7 separate regions of the Homo sapiens genome follow, and regions 2, 3, 4, 5, 6 and 7 are each linked to region 1. The links are contacts of gene promoters, found by promoter capture Hi-C in blood cells and fetal thymus (Javierre and others, 2016). All regions are on one chromosome and are shown on one strand. The core of a region is centred on a gene start or on the middle of the fragment in contact, and the rest is flanking DNA. Distances in the headings are between cores, read along the strand shown. Region 1 holds the start of RPL22 (ribosomal protein L22). Region 2 overlaps DNAJC11 (DnaJ heat shock protein family (Hsp40) member C11). Region 3 overlaps ZBTB48 (zinc finger and BTB domain containing 48). Region 4 overlaps NOL9 (nucleolar protein 9). Region 5 holds the start of PLEKHG5 (pleckstrin homology and RhoGEF domain containing G5). Region 6 holds the start of TNFRSF25 (TNF receptor superfamily member 25). Region 7 overlaps NPHP4 (nephrocystin 4).

Region 1 (4,042 bases), core at 1,007-3,506:
CTGTACCTGTGGGGAGTCCAGGGAGGGGTAGAGGCTGCACACATTGGCCTGGGGAGTCATATTTAAAGGGAAGAGCATGTGGGTCTTGTCTAAAGATCAAGTGTAGATAAGGACGGGAGGAGGCTGGGTGTGATGGCTCCCGCCTGTAATCCTAGCACTTTGGGAGGCTGAGGCAGGAAGATTGCTTTAGCCCAGGAGTTCTAGATCAGCCTGGGCAACATAGCCATAGTGAGACACCAACTCTCTACAACAGCAAAACAAAACAAAACAAAAAAACATGCAGCTGGGCATGGTGGTGCACACCTGTGGTCCTAGCTACTCAGGAGGCTGAGGTGGGAGGATTGCTGGAGCCTAGGATGTCAAGGCTTCAGTGAGCCGTATTCGCACCACTGCACTCCAGCCTGGGCAACAGAGCGAGAGCCTGTCTCAGAAAAAAAAAAAAAAAAAAGAAAGAAAAAGGAAAGAACAATAAAAGTCAACTGCTGAGAGGGAGGTTTAGGAAGAAGGGGCTGGCATTATGACTGAGGTGTGAAATAGTCTTTTGGGCCAGGTGCAGTGCCTTATGCCTGTAATCCCAGCAATTTGGGAGGCCAAGGTGGGAGGATCACTTGAGCCCAGGAGTTTGAGGCTGCAGTAAGCTATGATCACACCACTGCACTCCAGCCTTGGTGACAGAGCAAGACCCTGTCTCTATTAAAAACAACAAGAAAGGGAAATAGTCCCTTGGGGGAGAGATTTAGGATTGTCAGTAGCCCTGAGGGCTCGCTTAGGGTCCGTTATCAGCCAGGGTCCAGTCAAAAGACAACACATTATAGTTTTTAACTGAGAGAATTTAATATAAAGGATTGTTAACTAGGTATAAAGATGTGTTTAGGTAACTGTCGGGGTATAATACTAACAGTAGCAACTGCAGGAAGTAGCTACCACTGGTAGGTGGTATTATTAAAATGTAGATGCTTGAGGAGGGGCACAGGGAGGTGAAACTCAGACATCTGAGGAGAGGGTGCTGCTCTGCTAGGGCTGGTGTCTCTGAGGAGAAAACGAGGCTGGTTCTGCAAATGTTGGAATAAGTGCAGACTGGATTCCACTGCTGCTTCCAGAATGTTCCAACTGCCACCTCCAGGATAAAGAAGCAAGAGTGGATGACACCAGACAGGACAGGAGCAAGCAGGAAGCAAAGCCCCCTATTGATAGAGCCAAACCGGGATCAGCTGGAAAGCAGAAGTGTTTGCAGAGGCCCAGCCTGATCATTATAGAGCCAAGAACAGCAGCTGGCTTTGGAGCTTGGTCAACCGGCTTGAGGCCTGAGTTGAAAGCTAGACCCATCAGCACAGTCTCTTCTGGTGATTGGACTTTTGCTAGGTGAGTACACTGAAGCCAGGTAAAGGGAGTGGAGAGTGTGTGTGCCACTGAGTGATTTACAATTCAGGATCCTGGAATATAATTCCGTGAGGACGCAGCGGGTGACTGGGTGCAAAGTAGCCCAGTTCAAGGGACCTGTGGGCCTGGGGATGAGGACCTTTGCTTCTCCACATGCGGTCCATGGACTCGCAGCATCAGCATCGTCTGAGAGCTTGTGAGAAATGCAGAATTTCAGGCCACTGAGACCGCTGGAATTGGAATCTGCATTTTCCAGATCTCCTGGTGGTCCTCAACTACTTACTGGTTTGGGATGGGAAACTAGAAGGCTTGGGCTGGGAAACTAGGGAGTGGTGATCAGCGAGGGGGCGGCCTGGCTACAGCAAAAAGGACAGGCACTGGGAGACAGCCCCTGGGCATGAGCTTCCAAGCTGGGGCTTTTTGAGGAAGCCATAGTGGTCTGGCATTGGGACCTCTGAACGAAATTTCCCGGTGGCTACAAGGAATTTTCCCACTTCCCCAAATTAGTAGATTCGATTTCCATCCCACTAGCTGGTAATTTACAGTATAGTGAATTTCCTTATTTCTTTTTTCTTCCCAAGACTTTCAAAAAGTAAAGCCAACCCCTTTATTTATCTTTGGGCTCGTCCAGTCTGGCTTCCCCCCTCCGATCGTTCGCAGTGGGACAGCCCGCCGGGCCTCCTTCCTTCCCCAGAAACCCTCCAGGCCTGGGAGAGGACGCGTTTTGCATTCAGGAAAAACCAATCGCTCCCCTATCGTACATAACCAAGAGAAAAGGTGGCGGACGAGGGGCGTGGCAAAGTGATTAGTGCGGCCTGGACCCTGCGTGCCTTGCGCGCTGCGGGCTCTTTGCGTCTGCGTAGTTCGCTCACCTCCCTTTCTAACTCCGCTGCCGCCATGGCTCCTGTGGTTAGTATGGCTCCGCGTGAGGCCTCGGCTCCAGGGGAGGCACGTGGGCCTCGCCGAGCCCGGCATCTACCCAGGCTCGCTGGGGACGGCGCCCTGCAGCGTCCTGCTGGGGTGGGCTGGCAGGTCGGCCGGAGCGGGCCAGAGCCCCTGCCGATCCCAGCACGTTGTAGGCGGAGGAGGCCGCGGCCCGAGGCTCGTGAGGGAGATCCGGGAGGTCTCGGAGGCCCGGGGCCCCAGCTAGGGGCTAGCGGGGAGCTGGAGCCTGGAGACTGCGGTCTGGGCCGGCCACTGGTCCTCGGACCCCGGCCGGGGGCCTGATTACCTGGGTGGAGGGCGGGGAAGAAGAACGGGACCTGCTACCCTGGGGAGCCGCGCATTCGGAAGTCCACGGCCAAGACTCGGGGACGAATCCGCGGAAGGGCGGCTTGGTCGGCGTGCTTTCGGAGAGGAGGCCTGGGTTTGAGGAGCTTTTTAGCGTCCCCAGAGGAAATTAGTTTATCAGGGCGCACTGTACAGACCCAAACGGGTGTTGCAGTGGTGTAGGGAGAAGGCTCTCATTGCATTCTCCTTTAGCTATGCTGGGACTGGGCTGTGCGGCGCCCTCCTCCTAGGTTATTTGAGAAAGTTGTTTTTCCGTGTTCTTCGTCCCAAGATCCTACTTTTCCTCTTTTGTTGGGACTCCCTGGTTAACATTTCCGGTTCTTCTGCTCTTTCTGTCTGGTTGGGCTTTTGAATGCCTTTTGGTTTAAAACCTTGATGGAGAAGTATCAAGCCCGTTGTGGGTAGGTCTCTTGATTGATTGTGTGTGTTCGGAATAGATCTTAAAGTACCCCTCTTAGATTATTACTGCGAAGAGACGTTGTAAAAAATAAATCAGTGATTTTTGTAGTGGCCAAATGTTTGAAAAGTTGATCCAGTTAACACAAGTTTTAGATGAAGTTCTTTTAAACATGAAGGGAGGTAAGATGTGTTTTTGGAAAAGTCTATTTAGTTCTGCAGAGCTTTTAAACGTGAAAGTACAGGTTGGTACGATGCACAAGTGCATTAATGGTGTCAAGTTTGTAGAGAGATAAGATTAACACAAGCTTCTTCGTAAGAGTGAAGAAACTGGAACCTTGTAGGATGTGCTTTGCCGGGTGGTTTGGAAGTACTAATGCATAGATGAAGCGAATCAAAATGTCAGAAGTTCTTGACGGTAGTGTTGTAATAAGATTCTAGGTTTTAGCCTTAACCTTGTCCAAGCTGGAGTGGACAGGCACCTAGAATACTTTGCAACTCCCTTCATGAGAAGGTGGATGAGACAGGATTAAGGGAGATGAGCTAAGACGGATCAGGACCCTACTCTGAACATGTAGGACAAGGATTGATTTCATATGAAAATTGTGGGTATGCAAGGCATTTTGTATGCCTGCACTCTAATTTTGGAAAAATAGTATTTTTTTGAAATTGGGAATGTTAGGGCAAACAAAAGGAAGTGTTCATTTTATTGTGGTTCATAAACTAAGAGACCTTCATGCCTGTAGAGATTGGGGAGACTGGAAAGTTTGAGTGAGTCAAGAGTGCTAGAATGATTTCCCCATCAAAAGGGCATGACCCCAGGCCCCAAGCTTGTACAGCAGCATCTGCCCCATTATACCTCTGGCACTCAGGCAGTGATGCCTCTTGGCCCTCTGGCAAAGGGAGCACACTTCCGTTAGTTTTGTATTTGTATGGACTTTTATACCTATGACGTTTCTGGTTCTGTTAATCTTGT
Region 2 (4,042 bases), core at 441-2,940, 470 kb before region 1:
TGGCTCACACCTGTAATCCCAACACTTTGGGAAGTCAAGGCAGGTGGATCACTTGAGGTCAGGAGTTCAAGACCAGCCTGGCCAACATGGTGAAATGTCATCTCTACTAAAGATAAAAAAACTGGCTGGGTATGGTGGCACAAGCCTGTAATCCCAGCTACTCGGGAGGCTGAGGCAGGAGAATTGCTTGAACCCTGGAAGCGGAAGTTGCAGTGAGCTGAGATCGCATCGCTGCACTCCAGTCTAGGTGACAAAGCAAGACTCTGTCTCAAAAAAATAAAATATTAAAATAAAATAAAATATCGCTGGGCGCAGTGGCTCACGCCACTTTGGGAGGCCAAGACAGGCAGATCACGAGGTCAGGAGAACAAGACCATCCTGGCTAATACTGTGAAACCCAGTCTGTACTAAAAATACAAAAAAATTAGCCGGGCGTGGTGGCGGATGCCTGTAGTCCCAGCTACTCGGGAGACTGAGGCAGAAGAATGGCATGAACCCATGAGGCGGAGCTTGCAGTGAGCTGAGATTGCACCATTGCACTCCAGCCTGGATGACAGAGTGAGACTCCATCTCAAAAAAAAAAAAATGGCCAGGCGCAGTGGCTCACGCCTCTAATTCCAGCACTTTGGGAGGCCAAGGCAGGCGGATCATGAGGTCAGGAGATCAAGACCATCCTGGCTAATACGGTGAAACCCCGTCTCTACTAAAAAAAATTAGCCGGGCGTGGTGGCAGATGCCTGTAGTCCCAGCTACTCAGGAGGCTAAGGCAGGAGAATGGTGTGAACCCGGGAGGCGGAGCTTGCAGTGAGCCGAGATCGCACCACTACACTCCAGCCTGGGCAACAGAGCGAGACTCTGTCTCAAATAAATAAATTGAGCAAGACTCTGTCTCAAATAAATAAATAAATCAAATCAAGTCAAATCAAATCTCTTTATCCAGATTGGAACATCCTGCATCCTCTGAGCTATGTAGAGGAACTGTCTGCATTCAGACAGCCTCACACTTAGACCTCCTTGTCCTTGGGATGGTCACCATCCACTGAGTCCAGAGAAACTGTGGCTCCACAGTCAGGTCCACTGAATTGGGCTGTAAAGTCATGAATAATTTTTAAAGTATTTTAAAGCATATTTTCTGGATCTTCAAACTTAATGGAATAGTTGATTACCTACATTTCCCTGAAGCTCTTTCATTTTTATTTTCTTTCGATGCAGGGAGGGGCTGACATGAGATTGAGAAGATAATGGAAACTTTGAAAAATTGTACCTTGCTTTTGTCTATGTCAGGATGGGTGGTATTGGCAAGTGAGAGTGCTGTAGATAGGTGACGCACCCTCGATGATTTTAAGCCTGGGCAGCGGGAACGCATCTTGTTCACGAAATAGAACCCAGAATGCCCTTGCGAGGTCACAGAGCAATCACTGTCATGCCACTTAGGACCTTTAGTTTGTTCTTGGATGATTTTAACAATCTTTTTATTTTAAAGCTTCCTTAAAAAGAACCACTTCCCCCTTTTTAGTAATTATTGATTTATATTGGGTTATTAGAGAAGAAAATGTTTTCAATATTTTTAATGTTTAAAGTAGTGGACGAGTTCCTAGGATTTTTTGGATGCGTTTTTGTATTTTTTTTTATTTGTTGAAAAATAAAATCAAGTTGCACAAAGCCTGTAATATCTTATTTATATTGAATGTGTGTATGTGTGTGTGCACGTGCATATGCGCACATACGTAGGTACATAAGCATGCATAGAGAATTTTTAGGAAGAGATACAAAAAAAATTGAGTGTGAGCCTGTGAGATGAGTGTGAGCCCATGAGAAGAGGGAATATGGGTAAGGGGAATCGCATACTTTTTATTTCCTATCCTTCTGTTCTATTGATTTTTTGCTATAAGCTTGTATTTTAAAAAATAATCTGGGCGGGCGGATCACGAGGTCAGGAGAGCAAGACCATCCTGGCTAACATGGTGAAACCCCGTCTCTACTAAAAAATACAAAAAAAAAATTAACCAGGCGTGGTGCCGCACACCTGTTGTCCCAGCTACTTGGGAGGCTGAAGCAGGAGAATGGTGTGAACCAGGGAGGCGGAGCTTGCAGTGAGCTGAGATCGCACCACCGCACTCCAGCCTGGGCGACAAAGCAAGACTCCGTCTCAAAAAAAAAAAAAAATTATTTTTTGAAACGTGAAATTTCCAAGGAAACTTTTTCTCACATCACACCTTTTTAGATAGTCTGTGAGCAGCAACTCAAGACTCCCCTGTGTTTCTCCCATGGATGGGCAGAATCTGCTTTCGTATACCCCTGCCCCCTCCCCCATCCATCTGATAACTTTGGTCGTGATAGAAAAAGAGTAACCACTGTTTCTGTCCTGTTCCCACACTGTGTGTTTCTCACCGGTGCACACAATTTCACACCATAAACAGGACCCTTAGAAATCGTGCAGTGCGGTTGCCTCTTTCACGGTGGCCTTTCCACTTCTTTGAAATGTCAACTAGATGGTCTTCCTTTCATGACGAGCTAAGAAGGGCTGAACTGGAATTGAAATGCCTTCTTTTCTTTTCTTTTCTTTTCTTTTCTTTTCTTTTCTTTTCTTTTCTTTTCTTTTCTTTTCTAAGACAGAGTTTCTTGCTCATGTTGCCCAGGCTGGAGTGCAATGGCGTGATCTTGGCTCACTGCAAACTCCGCCTGCCGGGTTCAAGTGATTCTTCTGCCTCAACCTCCCAAGTAGCTGGGATTACAGGCACCTGCCACCACGCCCAGCTAATGTTTTGTATTTTTAGTAGAGACAGGGTTTCACCATGTTGGCCAGGCTGATCTCAAACTCCTGACCTCAGGTGATCCACCCGCCTCGGCCTCCCAAAGTGCTGGGATTACAGGTGTGAGTCACTGCGCTAGGCCTCGAATACCTTATTTTCCTTTTTCTTTTTCTTTTTTTTTTTAAGAGAGAGTCTTGCTCTGTTACCCAGGTTGGAGTGCAGTGGCATGATCTCAGCTCACTGCAACCTTCACCTCCTGGGTTCAAGCAATTTTCCTGCCTCAGCCTCCCAAGTAGCTGGGATTACAGGCACCTGCCACCACATCTGACTAATTTTTGTATTTTTAGTAGAGATGGTGTTTCGCCATGTTGGCCAGGTTGGTCTTGAACTCCTGACCTGAGGTGATCCCCTCACCTCTGCCTCCCAAAGTGCTGGGATTACAGGCGTGAGCCACCGCGCCAGGCCGGAATACCTTATTTTCTCAGACTCGACATTACTCTGCGTCCCCGAGTTTAATGAGGTCTGCTGTGTGGTACCTGAGTATTGTTACGCCAGCCTATAACTGACAGCCCACATTCTAAGGTTCATATACTGTTATAAGAAGAAGAGTCCCATGATTCTGAAAACACTCAGACCCACCAGACATGGTGGCTCGTGCCTGCAATCCCAGCACTTTGGGAGGCTGATGTGGGAGGATCCTTTGAGGCCAAGAGTTTGAGGCCAACCTGGGCAATATAGCAAGACCCCGTTTCTACAACAACAGAATAAAAACACCTAGACCCGACAGCTCGAGATCCTTGGTCCAAGAAGCTCAAAAGGAGTCTCTAGCGATTGTCTCAGACCACTAGGGAGAGCCAGCTTGCCTTCGTCTTGATATTTAACATTTGTTATCTGAGATTCATTAGGAAATTTACACTATGAAATTTAAGGTAGGCCGGCGCAGTGGCTCAAGCCTGTAATCCCAGCACTTCCGGAGGCCGAGGTGGGTGGATCACGAGGTCAGGAGATTGAGACCATCCTGGGTAACATGGTGAAACCCTGTCTCTACTAAAAATACAAAAAAAAATTAGCCAGGGGTGGTGGCGGGCGCCTGTAGTCCCAGCTACTCAGGAGGCTGAGGCAGGAGAATGGTGTTAACCCAGGAGGCGGAGCTTGCAGTGAGCTGAGATAATGCACGGCACTTCAGCTTGGGCGACAGAGCGAGACTCCGTCTCAAAAAAGAAAAAAAAGAAAGAAATTCATAAGGTGACATTTTCCTTGTAAGATTTCTGCAGCCTCAGAGATAAGTT
Region 3 (4,042 bases), core at 764-3,263, 390 kb before region 1:
AGATTGTAGCAAGTGATGAAGCGTTGGAAAAGACATGCCCCAGAGGCTGGGTGTGGTGGCTCACACCTGCAATCCCAGTGCTTTGGGAGGCTGAAGAGGGAGGATCACTTGAGCCCAGGGGTTCAAGACCACCCTGAGCAATACGGGAAGACCTTGTCTCCATTTAAAGAGAGAGGCCTGAGAAGTAAATGCTGTGGAACAGATGATGCCCAGGAAACCTGCCTGCTCCAAAGCTGGTCTTTGCCTGTTGGTCCTCTGCCCGGGCCCGGCTCCCACAGCCCTTCTTGAGATTGCGGTACATACAGGTGGTGATGAGACTCCCATCTGCGATGAGATGGCCCTTGGACCTGGGGAGGTGGAGCCCTTCAAATACAGTCCCAAACCAGGCTGTGAATCCACACAAGCCGTCTGGCTCAAGATGTTTTTCCTATCTGCAGAGTCCATCTGAACCTGAGGGAGAGGCCAGTGTCTCGGCTGGGAAGGAGAGCAGTGTTGAGACCACAGTGGGCCTCTTTTTTTTGTTGTTGTTTTTTAAAGACAAGGTCTCATTCTGTTGCCTAGGTTGGAATGCAGTGGTGCAATCTCGGCTCCCTACATCCTTCGCCTCCTGGGTTCAAGGGATTCTCGTGCCTCAGCCTCCTGATGCACCACCACACCCAGCAATTTTGTATTTTCAGTAGAGAAATGAAGCTGTCAGTAACTTACCCAGGGCCAACTTAGTTGGGAAGAAATTTAAACAACAGCAATCTGCTCTAAGGCCCACGTGCATTTGCTCCTTGCCACACAGTACCCCACAGCTATAGAACGTGGGGACCAAAGCCTCCTGGACACAGACCAGGCTGCTTGAAGGAAGGGCCCCACCCTCCTCAGACCCCCAGGCGTGCTCAGCTACACTAACTGGGCCCAATCCTTGATTCTGCCCAACAAGGCCAGCCCCGTGGGCCCTGATCACTCTACTGAACTCCAGAAGCTTAGTAATGAATTCTATCTCCAGAAGCCGGTATCACCTCAGCTCTAAAATAGGAATACTGGTGCTCTAACTGGCCAGCGTTCCCCACTCTAAAATCCTGCAGTAATGAGGAACAGAATACAGATGTGGAGAGCAGCCAAGGCCAGAGGTTTGGCCCCCAAAGGAACCCCATCCAAGCCTCGCTCAGCTGAGGTTTCCTGACAGGAGGGGAAGCTGCCAGCTGAGCTGAGGCCCACATAGGACCGGGCAGGGCACTACTCTCTCCTGAAGGCGTGGGTGGGAAGGCAGCACTTCCCCAACTCCAGGACACGGGAACAGACTGTCAGGCTGAAATACGAGAGTCCAAAGCCACACGGTTTATTGAGGGGTGGGGCCAAGTGGGCTCTGGTGGCCAGAATGGGCTATGTGTCACAGTCCTCGGGGACAGCAGCTGTGATGATGAGGGAGGGCTCCAGGACACCTGGGCCGGTGAAGCTCTCCTCTGCACACAGTCTCTGGCCGGGGAGCTGGGAGGCCAGGCCGCCCTGGGCCAGGGACTCCACAATGACCTCCGCCGAGCCCACCTCCAGCTCTGCAGGCGGCTGCAGCGCCACCACCACCATCTTCTCGTCCTCGATGATCAGGTTGCGGAGCTTGCGCTGCCGCGGGTTGTAGTTCTCTACCCGGTCGTGGATCTCCATGTGCCTCCGCAGGTGGGCCTGGCGGGGAGGGTGAGCTCAGAACTTTGGGGGATCCTAGGGTAGGGGAAGGGGCCCAGGCCCTGGCCTACCTGTCGGGTAAACTTGTAGCCACACTCGGTGCACTCAAACTTCCTCACCCCCTTGTGCCGTCTGACGTGCACACGCAGTTGCTCCACGGCTGCAAGAGGGAGAACACCGTGGGGGATCATGCAGGAGCCCCGGGACCCTCGAGGAAACCCAGCAGGAGGTTGGGACAGGCAGCAAGGGAGGGGACCAGTGGTTTACAAGTGCTGCACAGGCCCTGCCAGGCTCTCCAGTGCCACCCAGGGTCACTACTGCACAGGACACCCCTGCCTTCAAAGCAGGTCCACTCTCAACTCTAACCATGTGGGGCACAAAAGAGGTTCACAGGCAAGAAAGGAGCGTTTCCTCCTCAGAGACCCTCCAACTCGGATGAGCAGGAAATGGCTCTCCCAGGGCCGCCCAGGTACCTTTGAAGGTCTTGCCGCATATCTGGCAGAAGTGGGGCCGGCCCTCCTGATGGCGGCTGGCCACGTGCCTCAGGAGGGGCCCCTTCTCAGTGAAGCGCTGTTCACAGAACTCGCAACTGAAGGGCCTTTCCCCGGTGTGGGTGCGGTTGTGCTTGTCCAGGCTGGCTGCAGGCACAAGGCAAGAGCTCAGCCTGTGGCCTTGGCCTCAGGATGGGGAGGCGAGGGGAGGGGCAGGGCGTACCTCACCTTGGGTTCGGAAGGTCTTGCCACAGAGGTGGCACTGGAAGGGCTTCTCACCCGTGTGTGTGCGCAGGTGCATGTTGAGATTGGCCTTTTGGGTGAAGGCGTGGCTGCAGAACTCACATACGTGTGGCCTCTCATTCCTGTTAAGGTGGGGACATGGGGCAGAGGCCATCACCAAGGGAAGTGACCCCCTTGCTCTGCTACAGCTAGGAGCATGCCTGGTGGAAAGAGGGCTTGGGCAGTGCTAGGAAAGGGGCACCACCTCCACCCCGAGAGCAGAAGGACAATCTATGAGCAGGAGTCACAGGAAACTAAGGAAGCTCAGAATCTGCCCCGGGGGCACAGAGGCTTGTCTGAGCCTGAAACATCTGCCCCCAGCCTCTCTGCCTGGCATAGCTGCTTGCCCCTCAGGTCCCACTATCCCAGAGAGGCTGTAGGCACTAGATTCAGGGTGGAGGCCAAGGGCACACTCATCTGTGTAAAAGTCAGCAAACTCTGTCTTCCCTGCCGGTGCAAGCCTGGGCTGGCAGCAGGACTGGGCCCCAAGAGAGAACGGGCGACACGCACCTGTGCTTGGCCTTGATGTGCATCTGCAGGCCATTCCGGCTCGAGGCCCGGTGCCCACACTCCTCACACACAAACAGCTTCTCACCACGGTGCTTGAAAGCTTCATGCAGCTGCAGCTCTGTCCGAGACAGGAAGCACTTGGCACAGGTGGGGCACTGCAGGCAGACCAGGCAGGCAGAGGGAGGGACCAGGGCCAGGGTGAGAGCAGGGAAGGGCTGCCTGGGAGACCCACAAGCACCCCCCCGAACAACAGAAAGTACATGGCCGGCTGCCCACTCTGGGCACAGCTCACTCTTGCTCATGCCAGCATCAAAGCATGCCCAGCCCTCCCTGTCACTTACTGCATGGGGCTTGGGGGCTCCATGAAGTTTGATCATGTGGCTCTGCAAGTCCTTCTTCTGCATGAACTGCTGGGAGCAGGAGGAACACTGAAAAAGAGGCCCACAGTCACCTCCAGGGCGGCCTGCACCCATGAAACCCTGCCACCCACCCTTGGGCTATAGGGCAGGAACTAGAGGGAGGCCCCGGTGAGATGATTCTGGGAGGACCCCTGATCTGGTGTGAAGGATGGTGCAAAGGAGGGCCCTCAGGGCTCAGCTGCCCAGAGGATGCCAAGCCTGTCCTCCATGGAAAGAAACAAGGGCCTAATAAGGACCTTGGAGGTGAGGCTGCAGACAGTAGCCCTGCCTAGATAAGGGGGCACTGGAAAGGCAGGGAAGGCAGGGAAGGCAGGCTCCCTGACAGCTACTGTGAGGGAGGTGCCTGACAGCACCCCACGTAAAGGGCTCAGCAGGAAGGATCCTGGGGCCACCCAACCCTGGCCCTGGAGACAGGCCAAGCCTGACCTTGTAGGGCATCTCCCCTGTGTGAGACACCATGTGCACCCGCAGCTCCATCCTTCGGCGGAATGTCTCCTGGCACACAGAGCACGTGAAGACCTGGCAGTGTGAGGGGCAAGCAGGGCCGGCATCAGCGGGGGCCTCTGCCTATGACAGCAGCCTCTGCCCGGGCTTCCGCTTGCTGCTGGGAAGAGTCTGCCTGGGGAGGGTGGGGACGCTAGGGTGGGAGAGGGCAACACATAACCTGCCTGG
Region 4 (4,042 bases), core at 631-3,130, 340 kb before region 1:
ATCCACCTGCCTCAGCATCCCAAAATGCTGGGATTACAGGCATGAGCCACCACACCCAGCCTGCTTGTTTTTTTGTTTTTTGTCTGTTTGTTTTCCTTTTTGAGACGGAGTGCCGAGGCTGGAGTGAAGTAGTGTGATCTCAGTTCACTGCAACCTCCGCTTCCTGGGTTCAAGTGATTCTCCTGCCTCAGCCTCCCGAGTAGCTGGGATTATAGATGCCCGCCACCATGCCCAGCTAATTTTTGTATTTTTAGTAGAGATGGGGTTTCACCATGTTGGCCAGGCTGGTCTCGAACTCCTGACCTCAGGTGATCCACCTGCTTGGCCTCCTAAAGTGCCTGGATTACAGGCGTGAGCCACGGCATCCGGTCCCAGCCTGCATGTTTTTGAATTGGATTGTTACTTTTTGTTGAGTTTAGTAGTTCTTCGTATTAATAGTAGTTCTTTATATTAATCCTTTATGAGATGTACAATCTGCAAATGTTTTCTCCTGTTCTGTAGGTTGTTTTTTTGCTTTCTTGACAATAACCTTTGATGCACAGTTCTTAATTTTGATGAAGTTCAGTGTATCTATTTTTTCACTTGTTGCCTATGCTTTTGGTGTTACATCCTTGAAATCATTACTAAATCCAATGTCATCATGATTGTCTCTAATGTTTTCTTGTAAGAGCTTTATAGTTTTTAACTTTTTAAATTTTTTTATTTTTAAATTTTTCAGCCTGAATTTGTTTGTTCAGTTTTTACTCTTTTTTTTTTTTTTTTTTTTTTTTGAGATGGAGTCTTGCTTTGTCGCCCAGGCTGGAGTGCAGACGGGGTTTCACCGTGTTAGCCAGGATGGTCTCAATCTCCTGACCTCATGATCCACCTGCCTCGGCCTCTCCAAAGTGCTGGGATTACAGGTGTGAGCCACCGCACCCAGCCCAGTTTTTACTCTTAAGTTTAGGTTTTTGATCCATTTTGAATTAATATTTTCATATAGTGTAAGGAATTGGTCCAGCTTCTTTCTTTTGAATATAGATATTGAGATTTTCCACCACCATTTGTTGAAAAGACTATCTTGAAGATTGTTTGATCTTATATGTATGGGCTTATTTCCTGGTTCCGTTTCTGTTTCATCAGTGTACATGTCTGTCCTTGACCCAGTATCATATTGTTTTAATTACTATAGCTTTTCGGTAAGTTTTGAAGTCAGTACAAGTGCCTTACCCATTTTTCAGTTGGGTTATTTGTTTTCTTGCTGTTGAGTTTCTTGTGTTCCTTACATATTTTGGATATTAACTCTTTATCAGATGGATGATTTACAGATGTTTTCTCCCATTCTGAGGGTTGTCTCTTTGGAATTTTTTCCTTTGTTATGCAGAAGCTTTTTAGTTTGATGCCATCTCATTTGTCTGTTGTTAACCTTTGTTTTCGGGGTCATATCCAAAAAATTGTTACCTAGACCAGTGTCATGAAGCTTTTCCTCTAGTAGGTTTACAGTTTCAGGTCTTAATACTTAAGTCTTTATTCCATTTTGAGTTGATTTTTGTATATGGTGTTTGATAAGGATATCTAGTATCCTTCTTCTCCCCGTGGATAACCAGATTTCCCGGCCTTATTTATTGAAGACTGTCCTTCCCCCTTGTTTTGTTATTAGCACCTTTGTCAGAAGTCAATTGGCTGTAAATGCAGTGTTTATTTCCAGGCTTTCTATGCTGTTCCATTGGGTGATATGTCTTTTTTTATGCCATTACCGTGCTTGGTTTTTGAGAGAGACAGTGTCTCACTCTGTCACCCAGGCTGGAGTGCATTAATTAGCACAATCATAGCTCACCGCAGCCTTGGATTCCTGGAATCAGGTGATCTGCCTTAGCTTCCCAAAGCACGGAGATGGCAGAGCCACCATGCCTGATCCTGCCATGCTGTTTTACTTAAAAATTAATTTAAAAATATTTATTTATTTATTGAGACCGGGTCTTGCTCTGTCACACAGGCTGGAGTACAGTGGCGTAATCACAGCTCACTGCATCCTCCACCTTCTGAGCTCAGGCTAGCCTTGCAGGTAGCTGGGAAAACAGGTATGCACCACCAAGCCTAACTCCATTTTTTTTAGACTTTGTAGAAACAGGGTCTCCCTATGTTGCCCAAGCTGCTCTCAAACTCCGGAGCTCAAGTGATCCTCCCACCTAAGCCTCCCACAGTCCTGAGATTACAAGTGTGAGCCACTGCACCTGGCCTTATTTTTTCCTTTGAGACAGGATCTCAGTCTGTCACTGAGGCTGGAGTACAGTGGTGTGATCATAGCTTACTGCAACCTCAAGCTTCTGGGCTGAAGGGATCCTCCTACCTCACTTTGAGTAGGTAGGATGACAGCTATTATTAGCCACCACACCTGTCTAACTTTTATTTTTTTATTTTATTTTATTTTATTTTATTTGAGACGGAGTCTCGCTCTGTCACCCAGGCAGGAGTGCAGTGGCGTGATCTCGGCTCACTGCAAGCTCCGCCTCCTGGGTTCACGCCATTCTCCTGCCTCAGCCTCCCGAGTAGCTGGGACCACAGGTGCCTGCCACCACGCCCGGCTAATTTTTTGCATTTTTAGTAGAGATGGGGTTTCACCACTTTAGCCAGGATGGTCTCGATCTCCTGACCTGGTGATCCATCCGCCTCAGCCTCCTAAAGTGCTAGGATTACAGGCGTGAGCTACCGCACCCGGCCCACACCTGGCTAATTTTTGAACAATTATTTGTAGAGGCAGTGTCTCACTTTGTAGCCCGGTCTGGACCATGCTCTTTTAATTATAACTGCTTTTGAAGTCAGAGAATGTGATACCTCCAACTTTTTTTTTTTTTTTGAGATGGAGTTTCGCTCTTGCTGCCCAGGCTGGAGTGCAATAGCACGATCTCGGCTCACTGCAACCTGTGCCTCCTGGGTTCAAGCAATTCACCTGCCTCAGCCTCCCAAGTAGCTGGGATTACAGGCACCCGCCACCATGCCTGGCTAATTTTTTGTATTTTTAGTAGAGGTGGGGTTTCACCATGTTGGCCAGGCTGGTCTCGAACTCCCGACCTCAGGTGATCCACCTGCCTTGGCCTCCCAAAGTGCTAGAATTATAGGTGTAAGCCACCATGCCCAGCTGACCCTGTCTTAAAAATAAACAAAAACAAGAAAACTTGGCTCTCATTATTCTGAACACATTAATTTATGTGTACAATATCCCTATGTATAAGCAGCCGCTCTGCCCTGCCGGCCACCTCCTAGGACCTGTCTGTCTACTGAGCTCCTCTTACGTCCTAGGTCCTGACTGCACCCTTGGCCTGGGCTCTCCAGCTGTACTGACCCTGGCTACTCCATGGCTCCATCCTTTTTTGAGCACTGTCTTAACTTTCAGGAAAAACAGGAAGTTCTGGGGTCATCTTTCACTTTCTCTTCCATAGCCTTGGAATGAGCTATTTTTCCAGAGAGCCCTGGCTCCTTTTCATGGAGAGAGATTGAAACCAGAGTTTCAGTACTGTGCACGCTTGTTGCCTCTGGTGTGTTATTGTTTCTAGATCCCCTCAGTGCACAGAGCTAGCATATATTGCATATTTAAACCCAAACATACATATGTATATGTGTATGTATGCATATAGATCTGTACTTCTGTAGATACCTTTTCTATCTGTCTCATTAAAACCAGGCACGGTGCTTCATGCCTGTAATCCTAGCACTGTGGCAGGCCGAGGCAGGCGGATCACTTGAGGTCAGGAGTTTGAGACCAACTTACTTGGCCAACATAACAAAACCTCATCTCTACTAAAAAAGTCCAAAAATTAGCCAGGTGTGGTGGCGAGTGCCTGTAATCCCAGCTACTTGGGAGGCTGAGGCAGGAGAATCACCTGAACTCGGGAGGTGGAGGTTGCAGTGAGCTGAGATTGCGCCACTGCACTCCAGCCTGGATGACAGAGTGAGACTCTGTCTCAAAAAAATAAAAAGAAAAAAGAGAGAAAGAGAGAGAGACAGAGAGCCATGAGTTTCCGACTCATCCGATTCTGGCTTAACACCCCAGGGGTCACTCTCGTTA
Region 5 (4,042 bases), core at 1,312-3,811, 290 kb before region 1:
TGAGGCCTGGGAGAAGAGAGCTGGTCTCAGAGTGGGTATGGTCCCTCTGCAGCCTCCAGACCTCACCTCCAGCCCTGGCCTGCCTGGAACTTGGCACAGCTGACATTGGCATCAGCTGATGAGGGTCACCCAGCGTGCACGGGGAGAGTCTGGGCCCTGTCACTACTGGGACGCCCTTTGGGACAAATGGCACAGACTCACTGTAGGGGCAGAAATGCCTGAATTATCAGAGGCATAGAGAGCCAGTCAGGGAGGGCATCCTGGAGGAGGGGGCCTTTAATGGATGTGAAAACATGGATAGACAGAACAGAGGCAAGGGCAGTCCAGGAAGGGAGAGGCAGTGGTGGAGAGGAGGTGCGGGGCACTCAGATTTGGTAAGAGAAACAAAGAATAACATTGTCGATGATGATAATAATAACCACTACTGGCTGGGTGTGGTTGCTCATACCTGCGATCCCAGCACTGTGAGAGGCTGAGGCAGGAGGACTGCTTTAGCCCAGGAGTTTGAGGCCAACCTGGGCAATATAGGGAGACCTCTCTCTACTAAAATTAAAAAAAAGGCCTGGCGTGGTGGCTCACACCTGTAACCCCAGCACTTTGGGAGGCCAAGGCGGGCAGATTGCCTGAGCTCAGGAGTTCGAGACCAGCCTGGCCAACATGGCGAAACCCCATCTCTACTATAAATATAAAAATTAGCTGGGCATGGTGGTGGGTGCCTGTAATTCCAGCTACTCGGGAGGCTGAGGCAGGAGAATTGCCTGAACCTGGGAGGCAGAGGTTGCAGTGAACTGAGATCATGCCATTGCACTCCAGCCTGGGCAACAAGAGCAAGACTCCGTCTAAAAAAAAAAAAAAAAAAAAAAAAAAAAAATTAGCCAGGTGTGGTGGTGGGTACCTGTAATTCCAGCTACTGGGGAGGGTGAGGTGGGAGGATCATTTGAGCCTGGGACATTGAGGCTGCAGTGAGCCGTGATTGTGCCACTGCACTGCAGCCTGGGCAACAGAGCAAGACCCTGTCTCAAAAATAACAGGCCAGGCGCAGGGGCTCATGCCTGTAATCCCAGCACTTTGGGAGGCCAAGGTGGGCAGATCACTTGAGGTCAGGAGTTCGAGACTAGTCTGGGCAACATGGTGAAACCCCATCTCTACCAAAAATATAAAAAATAATTAGCCGGACATGGTGGCACACACCTGTAATCCCAGCTACTTAGGAGGCTGAGGCAGAAGAATCGCTTGGACCCTGGAGAAGGAGGTTGCAGTGAGCTGAGATCACGCAATTGCACTCCAGCCTGGGCAACAGAGCGAGACTCTGTCTCAAAAAACACCCAATAATAATAATAATAACAATTATTGCTGACCGAACATGTTTACATGCCAGGCGGGGCGTTAGGCCCTCCTGCTTGTCTCAGTGAAGCTTCTTGAGACCCTCAGGAGAACAGCGTTATTCTTATGACCACATGACTTGTAAGGAAACGGAGGCCCAGAGAGGTAGAGGAACTTGCCCACATCACACAGCATGATCGTCAGAGCCTGGCCTGCGTGAGGCTTGTCTGATCAAGAGCCCTATTCTTACTCTCCAGGATGTGACTAGCGTTTTGAAGGAGATGACTTCATTTATTCATTTACCAGACCAGCTCTGAGCATCTGTCGGTGCCAGGCCCAGTTCTAGGCCCAGGAGATCTCCAGAGAACAAAGGGGATGCCCTCCTGGAGGTGACATTCTAGCTGTGCTGGGAGGAAGGAAGGGAAGTGACCCTGGCTGGCCAAACTTCCCCCCAGGCTGCCCTGGCAAAGGACCAATTTCAGGCAGGGCTGGACCCTTCGGCTTCTGGGCCCACCCTTGATGTTTTATTTGAGGCTCTCCTGGGTGCTGGAGCTTCTGAGATGAATTTGCCATCTGTCCCCTACCTCCTGCCCCTGGAGTTCCCACTGGGAGGAGGGCTAACCAGGATGGGCTTCCTGGAGGCAACTGGAGTCCTGAGGATTAAAGAGGTACTGAGATGGAGGACAGCTGAGTGAGCAGGGGGGGACATTGGGGGCTATAAGGGGCAAGCGAGGCCAGGGGGCACAGGGAGAAGGGGACGGGAGGAGGGGGAGGCAGGCTGCACTAGGAGCACCTGCATGTCCAGATGAGGGGTCTGGACTGTGTGTCATGGAGACCCCAGGAGAGAAATGGCCCCTCCCCAGGATGAAGATATGTAGAGCAGTCCACACCTCTGAGCTCCAGGATCAAACCTACTTTTTTCCAGCTGTGCGACCCTGGGGAAGTCACTACACTTCTCTGAACCCCAGGTTCCTCATCTGGAAAATAACCCGGCAGCGAGGATTAAAAGAGGCCCATATATAACATGCTTAGCATAGAGCCTAGCACAGCGTAGGTGTGCAAGGTGTCCTGGGAGTGGGGGTAACAAAGTCACCTCTAGACTTTGGGTGTGCCCTCCGTACCTGCCCTGGGATCTGAGACCTCCCCAGGCTCCATCCCAGCTTCTTGCACACAGGTGGAGCTGTGAGTTTGGGGAGATGGAGAAAGGCCGGGAGATCAAGGCAGACTAATGATATTGTGGGTTCCCCCTGCCCTCCTGTGAGGTGGCCACGGGACAGTGTGTGGACTCCCCAGCTCCTTGCTGGGCTCCACTGGGCACTGTTCGAGGTCTAGTCAGGGCGTCCCAGGTCACAAGGGGGCATGGAGGAGGACACTTGTGGCCCTGGGCCACAGGGGACATTGGGCACCACATGTGAGGGTGTTTATCATGGAGGAGGTAGTGATTCCAGCAGCCGCCATTGATCCAGCACGTACTGTATGCCAGGCCCTGCCTTAGCGCCTGGCACAGAAACCTCATCTGGCCGCCTCCCCCGCTGCGGTGGGGCCTACCCCATCTCCGTTTCCTAGAGAGGGCCCTGCAGAGTGGCGAGGTAAAATGACTTGCCAAGCAAGGCAAGATCAGGACTCAAACCAGGCCTCTCTGTCAGAGCCTCCCATTTCCTCAGAACTCTCAGGAGGAAAGGGAGGTGAATTTTTCTGCACAGCTCCCAAAGGCCTTGACAGGGAGGTGGGGTTCAGCACACTACAGGAAAGAGTTTCCAGCAGCTGGAGCTATCCCCGAAGTGGAGGTAGTGAGCACCCCATCACTAGACATATGCAAGAAGAGACAGAAAGGGAAGCGTAGAGGGGATTGCAGTGTGGAGTGGAGGTTGGATGGGAGGACTTCAGAGTTCCCTTGCAGCTTAACAATGGCCTGTGAGGTGGCAGGGATGAGTCAGGGTATGCGTGTGTGGAGGGAGGGGTGGTGAGATGAAGACCAGGGAGAGGAAAGGGTGGACCTGAGGCCCCCATGGAGAAGGGACGGGCAGGATGTGAGTAATGGGAGAGGCAATCACCTATTCTCCTGGGCAATGCTTTGGGGGTGAGCAGCGGCAGACCAGGATGCCCCAGGGAATGGCCAGGTTTGGGCCATCTCTGGAAGTGACTGGTCCCCGGAGAGAGGTGGTGGGGCTATCTGCAGCTGAAGAAACGGGCAGGGCCAGAGAAACAATGCAAGGGGACTCCTGGGTTTTGGCTAAGTAGTTTTGGGGGAGCAGGTGAAGACGTGGGGATCCCTGGCCCAGCCAGGAGCTGCCCTAGTATAGGCCCAGCCCCAAGGGTTGTGTGGGGCAGTCTGGAGGTTTTGGCCTGGGAAGGGGTCGGGGGAAGGCTGTATAAAAAGCTTGAAAGTGCGGAACAGGTTGGTGGACCTGAACTCCACCTCCTCGAGTGGGCCCCCTGTATCCACACCCTTCCCAGTCCTGAGCCCAGAGTTATTCTAAACTCCCGCTGCTGGGAGAGGGGAACTGGGAACCACTAAATGGCAGAACAGCACCCTTTTCCGGCCATATCACCTGGGCCAGAAAAAAAAAAAAGAGGGGGCCCAGAGAAAAGCGGGCTGTTTCTGGGGCACCGCGGAGGCCGCAGATCAGAATCCAGCTTTTTACAATAGAGCGGAAGCGAACCTGGCTCAGGGCGATTCCGGGGCGGGCTAGGCCTGCGGGTCTCTCTGCCTGGTCCC
Region 6 (4,042 bases), core at 936-3,435, 270 kb before region 1:
TTACAAGACTTTGTGGCCCCAGGCCCAATGGCAGAGCTAGTGCCTCGGGCCCCAGAGTCCCCACGAGTTCCTTCCCCTCCACCCTCGCCCCGTCTCCGCCGCCGCACCCCTGTCCAGCTGTTGAGCTGCCCGCCCCACCTGCTCAAGTCTAAGTCCGAGGCCAGCCTCCTCCAGCTGCTGGCAGGGGCTGGCACCCATGGGACACCCTCTGCCCCCAGCCGCAGCCTGTCAGAGCTCTGCCTGGCTGTTCCAGCCCCAGGTATTAGGACTCAGGGCTCCCCTCAGGAAGCTGGGCCCAGCTGGGATTGCCGAGGGGCCCCTAGCCCTGGCAGCGGTCCTGGGCTAGTCGGCTGCCTGGCCGGGGAACCTGCAGGCTCCCACAGGAAGAGGTGTGGAGACCTGCCCTCGGGGGCCTCTCCCAGGGTCCAGCCTGAGCCCCCACCAGGGGTCTCTGCCCAGCACAGGAAGCTGACCCTGGCCCAGCTCTACCGAATCAGGACCACCCTGCTGCTTAACTCCACGCTCACTGCCTCGTGAGTGGCCTGGACTGGGGTAGGGCAGGTGGCTCAGGGCACTGGCATGGGGGCCCACTCATGCCTGGGAGCATCGCATTTGGGGAGGGTCATGGCGGAGGGAGCCTGAACCCTGCCCAGTGTCTGGGCGCAGGGGGCTGTGGTGGGCAGCAGTGAAGGGGCCTGAGGAGTGCCGTGGGGAAGAGAGGGTGACCAGAGCCACTCTGAATGGCGTCAGCCAAAGAAGGACTCTGTCCCCTCCCCACCCTGTAGGGAGGTCTGAGCAGAGGGAGGCCCCCAAGAGTGCCATTGACCAAGAGACAGCAGACAGCCTGCCTCCTGGGGCGTGCCGGCACCTGCTTCAGCTACTGCCTCCTGTATGCATGAGCCGGATGCTGGGCAGGATCCCTGCCTACGCCCGGGCCCGATTTGCGCTTTGCCGGACTGGATGGAGTGGAGGAGGCCCAGGCCACAGTACCACCCCACCTGCCCAGGCAGCCCCTCGTCACCTACTCCCCGAAGTTACCAGCTCAGCTCGAGTCTTCAGGGCTGGGCTCCTAGGCTGCCCATCCTACTTCTACCCTCACTGGCCTCCAGTGGGATTCACTCCTGCCCTGCCCCCACCTTCCCAGTCCCACAGGCCACCCCTGGCTTGGGCTGGGTTCTGTGAAGTTACGTATTTATTGAGCTTTTGGTTCTTTTATAAAGACTTGTCTAGACTCCACTGGGAAGAGTCCTTTGCTTTGGGGCCCAGTGACTCGGGGCACTTGAGTTCAGGGCGGCCTCCTTGTGTTCCTGTGCTCCTCCACTTGCCACGGATGGGCCACGGATGGAGCTTGCCATGGGAAGCACTGGGAAGTAATGGGGTGTGGGGTGCCACCAGACCAACACCCCCAGACTTCCCCACCTTCAGCCACCATCAGAGCCTCTCCCCAGGTGCCCCCCGGGGATTCAGGGCTGAATCTGCCCAGTTCCCACACTCAGGCCAGCCCTCTTGGGAAGGTGGGTCCTCCATGGGGGTCCCTTCAGGAACTTTTTTTTTTTTTTTAATACAGAGTCTCACTCTGTCACCTAGGTTGGAGTGCAGTGGTGTGATGTCGGCTCACTGCAACCTCTGCCTCCCGGGTTCAAACGATTCTCCTGCCCCAGCCACTCTAGTAGCTGGAACTGCAGGTGTGCACCACCACGCCGGGCTAGTTTTTGTATTTTAAGTAGAGACGGCATTTCACCATATTGGTCAGGCTGGTCTCGAACTCCTGACCCCAAGTGTTCCGCCCGCCTCTGCCTCCCATAGTGCTAGAATTACAGGCCTGAGCTACTGCGCTTGGCCCCTTGCGGTACTTTTGGCCCAACCTCCTCCATGGCTGGGGACGCGGAGGCCGAGAGAGAAGTCACTTGCCCTGGCTCTACCTTGAAGTGGTTCTCAGGGTTGGGGCGAGAGTCGGGGTGGGGACCGAGATGCAGCTCTATCCTGTGCCCCTGGTCGCAGCAGGCAGCCCAGCGCTTCGCGTGTTCTACTTGGCCTGTCCGCTGCCGCCTAATGAGCTCAGGTCTAGGCCGAGCAGAGGGGGCACCTGGTCGGACTCGGTTGGGCTCGGGCGGCCCCGCCTCCCCCCGCCCGCCAGGCGGGCCCTTCTCGACGGCGCGGGGCGGGCCCTGCGGGCGCGGGGCTGAAGGCGGAACCACGACGGGCAGAGAGCACGGAGCCGGGAAGCCCCTGGGCGCCCGTCGGAGGGCTATGGAGCAGCGGCCGCGGGGCTGCGCGGCGGTGGCGGCGGTGAGTTGAGACGCAGGAGGCTAGGGGCAGCTTTGAGCCCTGTCCCAAGAGCCTCGGTGAAGGAAGGGGCCCCGGGCGCGTCTCCACTCCAAGCCTCACTGGGGGCTGGGTTGGCCGCCCTTTCCGATCTCGTTAAAGGCTCCTCCAGGGCGTAGCCCTTCCACTGAGAGGAAACCCCTCCCAGGAGGGTCTGGGGGCCCCAGGCAGAGCATTATCAGTGTCCCTCCCCCAACAGAAAGCATGGGTGGGGGTGGGGGCGCTGCTGGATTCCTGCTCTGGTGGAGGGGAAACTTGTGAGGGGCTGGTAAGCGCCCCCTCCGAAGCCTGGTGTGTGCGCGGGGGGAAGGAAGTTAGTTTCCTCTCCACCCATGGGCACCCCTTCTGCCCGGGGCCTGGGAAGTGGGCTGCTCTGTGGGCAAATGCTGGGGCCTCTGAAATGGAGGAGACGCAGCAGGGAGAGGCCCCACGTGGGCAGCTGCGCTGAGAGTCAGCAGCACCTGTCCCCCAGGCGCTCCTCCTGGTGCTGCTGGGGGCCCGGGCCCAGGGCGGCACTCGTAGCCCCAGGTGTGACTGTGCCGGTGACTTCCACAAGAAGATTGGTCTGTTTTGTTGCAGAGGCTGCCCAGCGGGTAAGTGGCCACAGGGGTGGGAGAGGCATGGGGCAGGCAGGGCTGGAGAGGTGGCGGGCAGGCCCGGGAGGTAAGAGGAGGCTGGCAGGGGAGGTAGGGGTAGGCTGACAGAGAAGTAGGGAGCTGGAGAGAAAGAGGGAGGGAGGGCAGGGTGGGAAGCAGGTCGGGGGTTGCTGGGCAGCCCCTCTGCCTGCCTGACCCCTGCCTGGTTCCACAGGGCACTACCTGAAGGCCCCTTGCACGGAGCCCTGCGGCAACTCCACCTGCCTTGTGTGTCCCCAAGACACCTTCTTGGCCTGGGAGAACCACCATAATTCTGAATGTGCCCGCTGCCAGGCCTGTGATGAGCAGGGTGAGGGGCTTCTCAGTGCTTGGCAGGGAGTTCCTAAGGACAGGCCTTTCTGAAGGAAGTGGCTGGCTCGGGCCCAAACTTGGGGTGTGAGGGTCCTGCACCCACCCTTGCCAGAACCCTCCACCCTGATCCTCCTTCAGGGTGCCCTTGCCCCTTCTCTCTTCCTGGTGACCTTCCCATCTCTCCATGTGCCTTGGCCTCTGGTCGGCCTTAATCTCTGAGCTTCTCTCTTTTTTAGGGTAGCCCTGTACCTGTCTGTCTTTCGCCTATTTCTGTCTCCATTATCTTGGGATAATGCCTCTGCCTCTCCATGGGAGCCTTTGGCCCTGACTAACTCTCCACTCCCCATCTCCCTGCACCCCCACCAGCCTCCCAGGTGGCGCTGGAGAACTGTTCAGCAGTGGCCGACACCCGCTGTGGCTGTAAGCCAGGCTGGTTTGTGGAGTGCCAGGTCAGCCAATGTGTCAGCAGTTCACCCTTCTACTGCCAACCATGCCTAGACTGCGGGGCCCTGCACCGCCACACACGGCTACTCTGTGAGTACCCCCACCCAGGGCTCTCTACTCCCAGACCCCCTTCTCCCTGCCTGACCCACTCCTGTCCCATGGTGACGCATGCCTCTCCTGGATTGCAGGTTCCCGCAGAGATACTGACTGTGGGACCTGCCTGCCTGGCTTCTATGAACATGGCGATGGCTGCGTGTCCTGCCCCACGTAATTCCTAGCTGTCGTGGGATGGAGGGAAGGGCGGCTGGGAGCAGAGCAGGGGCCTG
Region 7 (4,042 bases), core at 839-3,338, 260 kb after region 1:
TTCTGGTAGCGGCGAGTTGACCTTGCCAGTGTCCATGCCTCCGGTCCCTATGATTCCGAGTCCTAATTAGGTGCAGAAATCCAGAAGTGCCAAGCGTTCTGTGGACTGACACAGTCACAGTCATTTAATGAAACTGTTCCAGTTCTGCTTTTCTTTACTTATGACCAGAAATTTCAGCTAAAATACAGCTGTTTGTGAATACCCTTGGGTGGGAGGGGTCTTCTGGGGTGGGTGTGGCTCATGGGGAGGGATGGGGCTGCCCAGGCTGGGGAGTGAGCGGAGGAGAAATGGCCTCAGGGTGTCCTGGCAGCGCCTGATGGCTGATGTGTGGTTCCCAGGGGCTGTGGGGGGAGGTGGGGAGGAGCAGGAGGGCTGGCGCCTCACTCTCAGTGTCTTCTAGAGAATATTAATTGTAATTTACTTGTGATTATGACATCTGTATGCTGAAACCAAGATGTCTTAGCGATACTTTATTCTTTTTTAACCCTCATCTGAAATTCCTGACAACAGGTGGTTTCGATGGTGGCCGCTTCATGGGCGTCTGGGGTGCGGGTGCGGGTGAGGCTATGGAGTCACTGATTTCTCTTCTCTTCTCTTTTCGAGACAGAGTCTCACTCTGTCGCCCCTCAGTGGCGCGATCTCGGCTCACTGCAACCTCCGCCTCCTGGGTTCAAGTGACTCTCCTGCCTCAGTCTCCTGAGTAGCTGGGACTATAGGCACGGGCCACCATGCCCAGCTAATTTTTGTATTTTTAATAGAGACGGGGTTTTCCCACGTTGGCCAGGCAGGTCTCAGACTTCTGACCTCAAGTGATCTGCCCTCCTTGGCCTCCCAAAGTGCTCAGGTTCCAGACGTGAACCACCGCGCCCGGCCAGTCATTGGTACTTTCCGATGTGCTGGTCGATTGTAACTGGGAATACTGGATTCCACTTTACTGTCATCAAGTGCGCTTTCCTGGGTGAAATCTGGAATGGAAATGTTGCAGTGTGTGAAATGACCTTCCACACAAAAATTGCTTCCTGTGCGGAACCATTGGAAGTGGGTTAAGCATCCACCGGGTGAAACTGGAATTGAGCGGGACGTGAGAGGAGAAAGGCACAATGGCGGGGCCGTCTGTGACGGTGGCTGTGGTAGAGGAGCCCAGCGCGCTCCTTGGAAGGCCCAGGGCGGGCTGTGGCAGGGCCCTCCCACCTCAGCCACCCCGTCTGCAGCAGTGTCTCCCAGAGCAGCCTTCTTCAGCTGGGTGGGGATTTTTTCAGCTGGGTGTGGTTGTGCCTTCCGGCTGCAGCGTCCTCCTCCTTGTCTTTGGTGAGGACCCTGCGTGGTGGAAGCTGTAAGCACAGCTGAAAACAGGCTGGCTGGTGCGATGGGCCCCACGGAGCTTCCCCGGCTGCCAGCTTCCTGGACAATCTGCTTCTTCTATGTCCTCTCCCACAACCCGTTTTGAATTATTCTGAAACAAATTCCAGGCATCATTTTATTTCATCTGTAAACCTTTTGGCATGAACATTTCTTTTTTTTTTAAAAACTTTTTTATTTTGGGAAATTTCAAAGCTAACAGTGGAGAAGCATGTGGTGCGCTCCCTGCACCCACCTCCAACCCCCAATTTATCGCTCATGTCTCATCTCTTTCTCCCGTCCCGTTCCACCTGGGCTATTGGAGACCGCATCCTAGACATTGCATCCTTTCATCTACAGATGGCTCACCATGTCTCTCCAAAAGACAGGGCTCTGGAGTGTCACTGTGAACACCATCATCACACCTAACCTTGACTGCATTTCTTAGTATCATCAAACATCCAGTCAGCCTGGGTGTACATTTTTTAAGTATTTTACTTAATAAGAAACGGACAAACCCCAGCAATGTGCTTTTCCCTGGAAAGTGACTTGTGACAGCCGTCTTCCTGCATGAGCTGGGCGGCCTGTCTGTTGTTCCCTGGCAGTGGCTTCCTCATGTTGCCTTTGACTGGAGGATCTGCTCTCCCTGTGGCCCTGCTGCCTTCATCACACATTCGTAATGCTGGGAGAGCCAAAATGCACCAGGCTTTTGGCAGCTGCTTCACTTGGCCTCATGCATCAGATCAGGAGGCAAAAGCTATGGTGTCTAGGGGCCCTTTGTGGAAGGATTCATCTGTAAATGGTATGCACAGACGAGGAGGCTACCTGGGCTGATGAGAACATGGAACAAATACTGTGTTCAGGGCACACCCAGGCACTGGAGTCTGCATGTATTCTTTGGGTCCTGAGTATTTTGTAGTCATTGGAAACAAACTAGGAACAAAAGTTTTGCCAAGACACACTCACTGACTTTAATCTGCTGTTAATTTTTTTGCATTTTTTAGTTAACCAAAGCATCTAAAACCTTTTTCCTGTAATTTATGTTTGGGTTAGCTGTGAAGAAGCTAAAGAAACTACCAAAGAAGTAGTCCCTCCTGTCCAGACCACTTTCTTCCCAGGATCCTGGGGACAGTGCAACCTCATTTGACTGCCACAGCACTGCCTCTTTTGAAATGTCTTATGCATGCAAGTGTGGGCTCCAGAAATGTTTGCTGACTGAATGAGTGATGGAGCAAACTCCCTGTAACATGAGCATGAAATGCAACAGGGGCAAACCTGCAAAAATCACCAGATCCGGTGTCTTGGCTGCGTTTCATGTCTGAATAAGCGGGCATCCTCCTGAGCCTCTGGGGGTGAATACAGTCCTTTTCTGTGGGTCACATGACAAAATAACCCTCTCCCCAAATCTCTAAGGGGTGAAGATTTGCCTGATTTATTGTTTATGTATTAACTCATATTCTTGGAACAAAATCAATGGCCCATGTTCCAGGGTCTGTTGAACTGATCCATGTGTGTCCCTGATGGCCTTTCCTCCAGTACCGTGTCCAGTTCAGGATCATGTCTTGTGTCTGGTTTCTGTGTCTCTTTGACCTCCTTAATTCTGGAACAGTTCCTCAGCTTTTTTTTTTTTTTTTTGTCATTTATGATTTTATTTTTAATATTTTAGTCTCCTTTTTTTTTTTTTTTTTTTTTGAGATGGAGTCTCGCTCTGTTGCCCAGGCTGGAGTGCAGTGGCGCGACCTCGGCTCACTGCAACCTCCGCCTCCTGAGTTCAAGCGATTCTCCTGCCTCAGCCTCCTGAGTAGCTGGGACTACAGGTGCCTGCCACCACGCCCGGCTAATTTTTTGTATTTTTAGTAGAGATGGGGTTTTACCATGTTAGCCAGGATGGTCTCGATATCCTGACCTTGTGATCCACCCGCCTTGGCCTTCCAAAGTGCTGGGATTACAGGCATGAGCCACTGTGCATGGCCTAGTCTCCCTTCTTTAAAAAATTTTTAATGCGTATGTTGCTTGGGTTCATCTGATGCTTCCTCATAGTTGGAGTCAGGTTGTGCCTTCCTGGTAGTGGTCCGTGTGAGCAAGGGGCAGTCCTTGGGTCCCACATCCAGACGTGCATGTGTTCATCCTGGGCGAGGTTGGTTGTGGTGATCTTTGCTGATATCTCCACTGTAGAGTTACCTTTTTTCCTCCATGCAGCTAATAAGTGATCTGTGGGGAGACTCTGAGACCACGTGGGTATCTGCTCCTCATCCGATTGTCCCCCTTGGGTTGGCGTCGTTTATGCTTCCTGCAGGAGGAGGAGCCCCAGCCCAGCTTTCCCACAGACCTGCAGCTGGCATGGCACCTCCTGTCCCCAGGGCCCCCTGTCTCCTCACTGGTGGGTAGATGGTTGACTTGTCCATCAAGCGCACATGGGTCTGGACTCAGGGATCCCTGTTTTCAAAGTCACTGCTTCTGATTATTTTGGTACAAATTGTCCCAGATTTGGCCGGATGGAGTCCTTGAGGCTGGCCCCTGTGTCCTATGGCATCCTTCGTCCTGTTTTGTGTTTGAGTACTTTCTGGCTTCAGAAGATGCTTCAGGCTCATCTTCATCTCTACTTATTTTGCCCATTTTTCTGTAGTTTTTGCATTTTTCATCAAATATTAAAAGTTCTTTGTATGTTAAGGATATTTGCTCTTTATCTGTGATAAATAGTGCA

The links. Contacts are between HindIII fragments. The CHiCAGO score rates a contact against its expected background, and 5 or more counts as called.
Region 2: a fragment that was not itself captured here is called in contact with the fragment with the promoter of RPL22 in region 1 in 2 of 17 cell types (total CD8 T cells and activated CD4 T cells); the score reaches 6.5 in total CD8 T cells.
Region 3: a contact is called between a fragment that was not itself captured here and the fragment with the promoter of RPL22 in region 1, in 2 of 17 cell types (activated CD4 T cells and M1 macrophages). The highest score is 5.7, in activated CD4 T cells.
Region 4: a fragment that was not itself captured here is called in contact with the fragment with the promoter of RPL22 in region 1 in 1 of 17 cell types (activated CD4 T cells); the score reaches 6.2 in activated CD4 T cells.
Region 5: a contact is called between a fragment that was not itself captured here and the fragment with the promoter of RPL22 in region 1, in 1 of 17 cell types (fetal thymus). The highest score is 5.9, in fetal thymus.
Region 6: a contact is called between the fragment with the promoter of TNFRSF25 here and the fragment with the promoter of RPL22 in region 1, in 10 of 17 cell types (activated CD4 T cells, naive CD4 T cells, erythroblasts and 7 more). The highest score is 11.3, in activated CD4 T cells.
Region 7: a fragment that was not itself captured here is called in contact with the fragment with the promoter of RPL22 in region 1 in 1 of 17 cell types (total B cells); the score reaches 5.1 in total B cells.

What each region holds. Positions count from the first base shown.
Region 1 is chr1:6,197,809-6,201,850 of GRCh38, reverse strand. It overlaps RPL22 (ribosomal protein L22), which reads left to right and starts at 2,256. Exons shown (of 4, transcript NM_000983.4): 1 at 2,256-2,289. The coding sequence starts at 2,278. RefSeq lists a silencer at 2,365-2,504. The HindIII fragment of the contact is 15,793 bases long and covers 1-3,376 here.
Region 2 is chr1:6,668,081-6,672,122 of GRCh38, reverse strand. All of the region lies in intron 3 of DNAJC11 (DnaJ heat shock protein family (Hsp40) member C11), which reads left to right. Among named protein-coding and RNA genes, the nearest start is that of DNAJC11, 32 kb to the left of the region's middle. The HindIII fragment of the contact is 409 bases long and covers 1,486-1,894 here.
Region 3 is chr1:6,586,542-6,590,583 of GRCh38, reverse strand. ZBTB48 (zinc finger and BTB domain containing 48) reads right to left here. Exons shown (of 11, transcript NM_005341.4): 5 at 3,797-3,889; 6 at 3,293-3,379; 7 at 2,952-3,106; 8 at 2,388-2,524; 9 at 2,142-2,306; 10 at 1,740-1,828; 11 at 1,304-1,668. The coding sequence ends at 1,372. Among named protein-coding and RNA genes, the nearest start is that of ZBTB48, 8.6 kb to the right of the region's middle. The HindIII fragment of the contact is 2,081 bases long and covers 973-3,053 here.
Region 4 is chr1:6,534,720-6,538,761 of GRCh38, reverse strand. All of the region lies in intron 6 of NOL9 (nucleolar protein 9), which reads left to right. Among named protein-coding and RNA genes, the nearest start is that of NOL9, 18 kb to the left of the region's middle. The HindIII fragment of the contact is 844 bases long and covers 1,459-2,302 here.
Region 5 is chr1:6,490,948-6,494,989 of GRCh38, reverse strand. PLEKHG5 (pleckstrin homology and RhoGEF domain containing G5) reads left to right here and starts at 3,323. Exons shown (of 21, transcript NM_020631.6): 1 at 3,323-3,353. RefSeq lists a silencer at 4,033-4,042. The HindIII fragment of the contact is 2,289 bases long and covers 1,417-3,705 here.
Region 6 is chr1:6,464,316-6,468,357 of GRCh38, reverse strand. TNFRSF25 (TNF receptor superfamily member 25) reads left to right here and starts at 2,185. Exons shown (of 10, transcript NM_003790.3): 1 at 2,185-2,289; 2 at 2,798-2,918; 3 at 3,136-3,270; 4 at 3,639-3,806; 5 at 3,905-3,983. The coding sequence starts at 2,251. PLEKHG5 (pleckstrin homology and RhoGEF domain containing G5) reads left to right here. Exons shown (of 21, transcript NM_020631.6): 20 at 1-533; 21 at 786-1,236. The coding sequence ends at 795. RefSeq lists an enhancer at 1,416-2,364. The HindIII fragment of the contact is 14,059 bases long and covers 1-4,042 here.
Region 7 is chr1:5,941,519-5,945,560 of GRCh38, reverse strand. All of the region lies in intron 9 of NPHP4 (nephrocystin 4), which reads left to right. Among named protein-coding and RNA genes, the nearest start is that of NPHP4, 49 kb to the left of the region's middle. RefSeq lists an enhancer at 1,095-1,595. The HindIII fragment of the contact is 5,858 bases long and covers 1-4,042 here.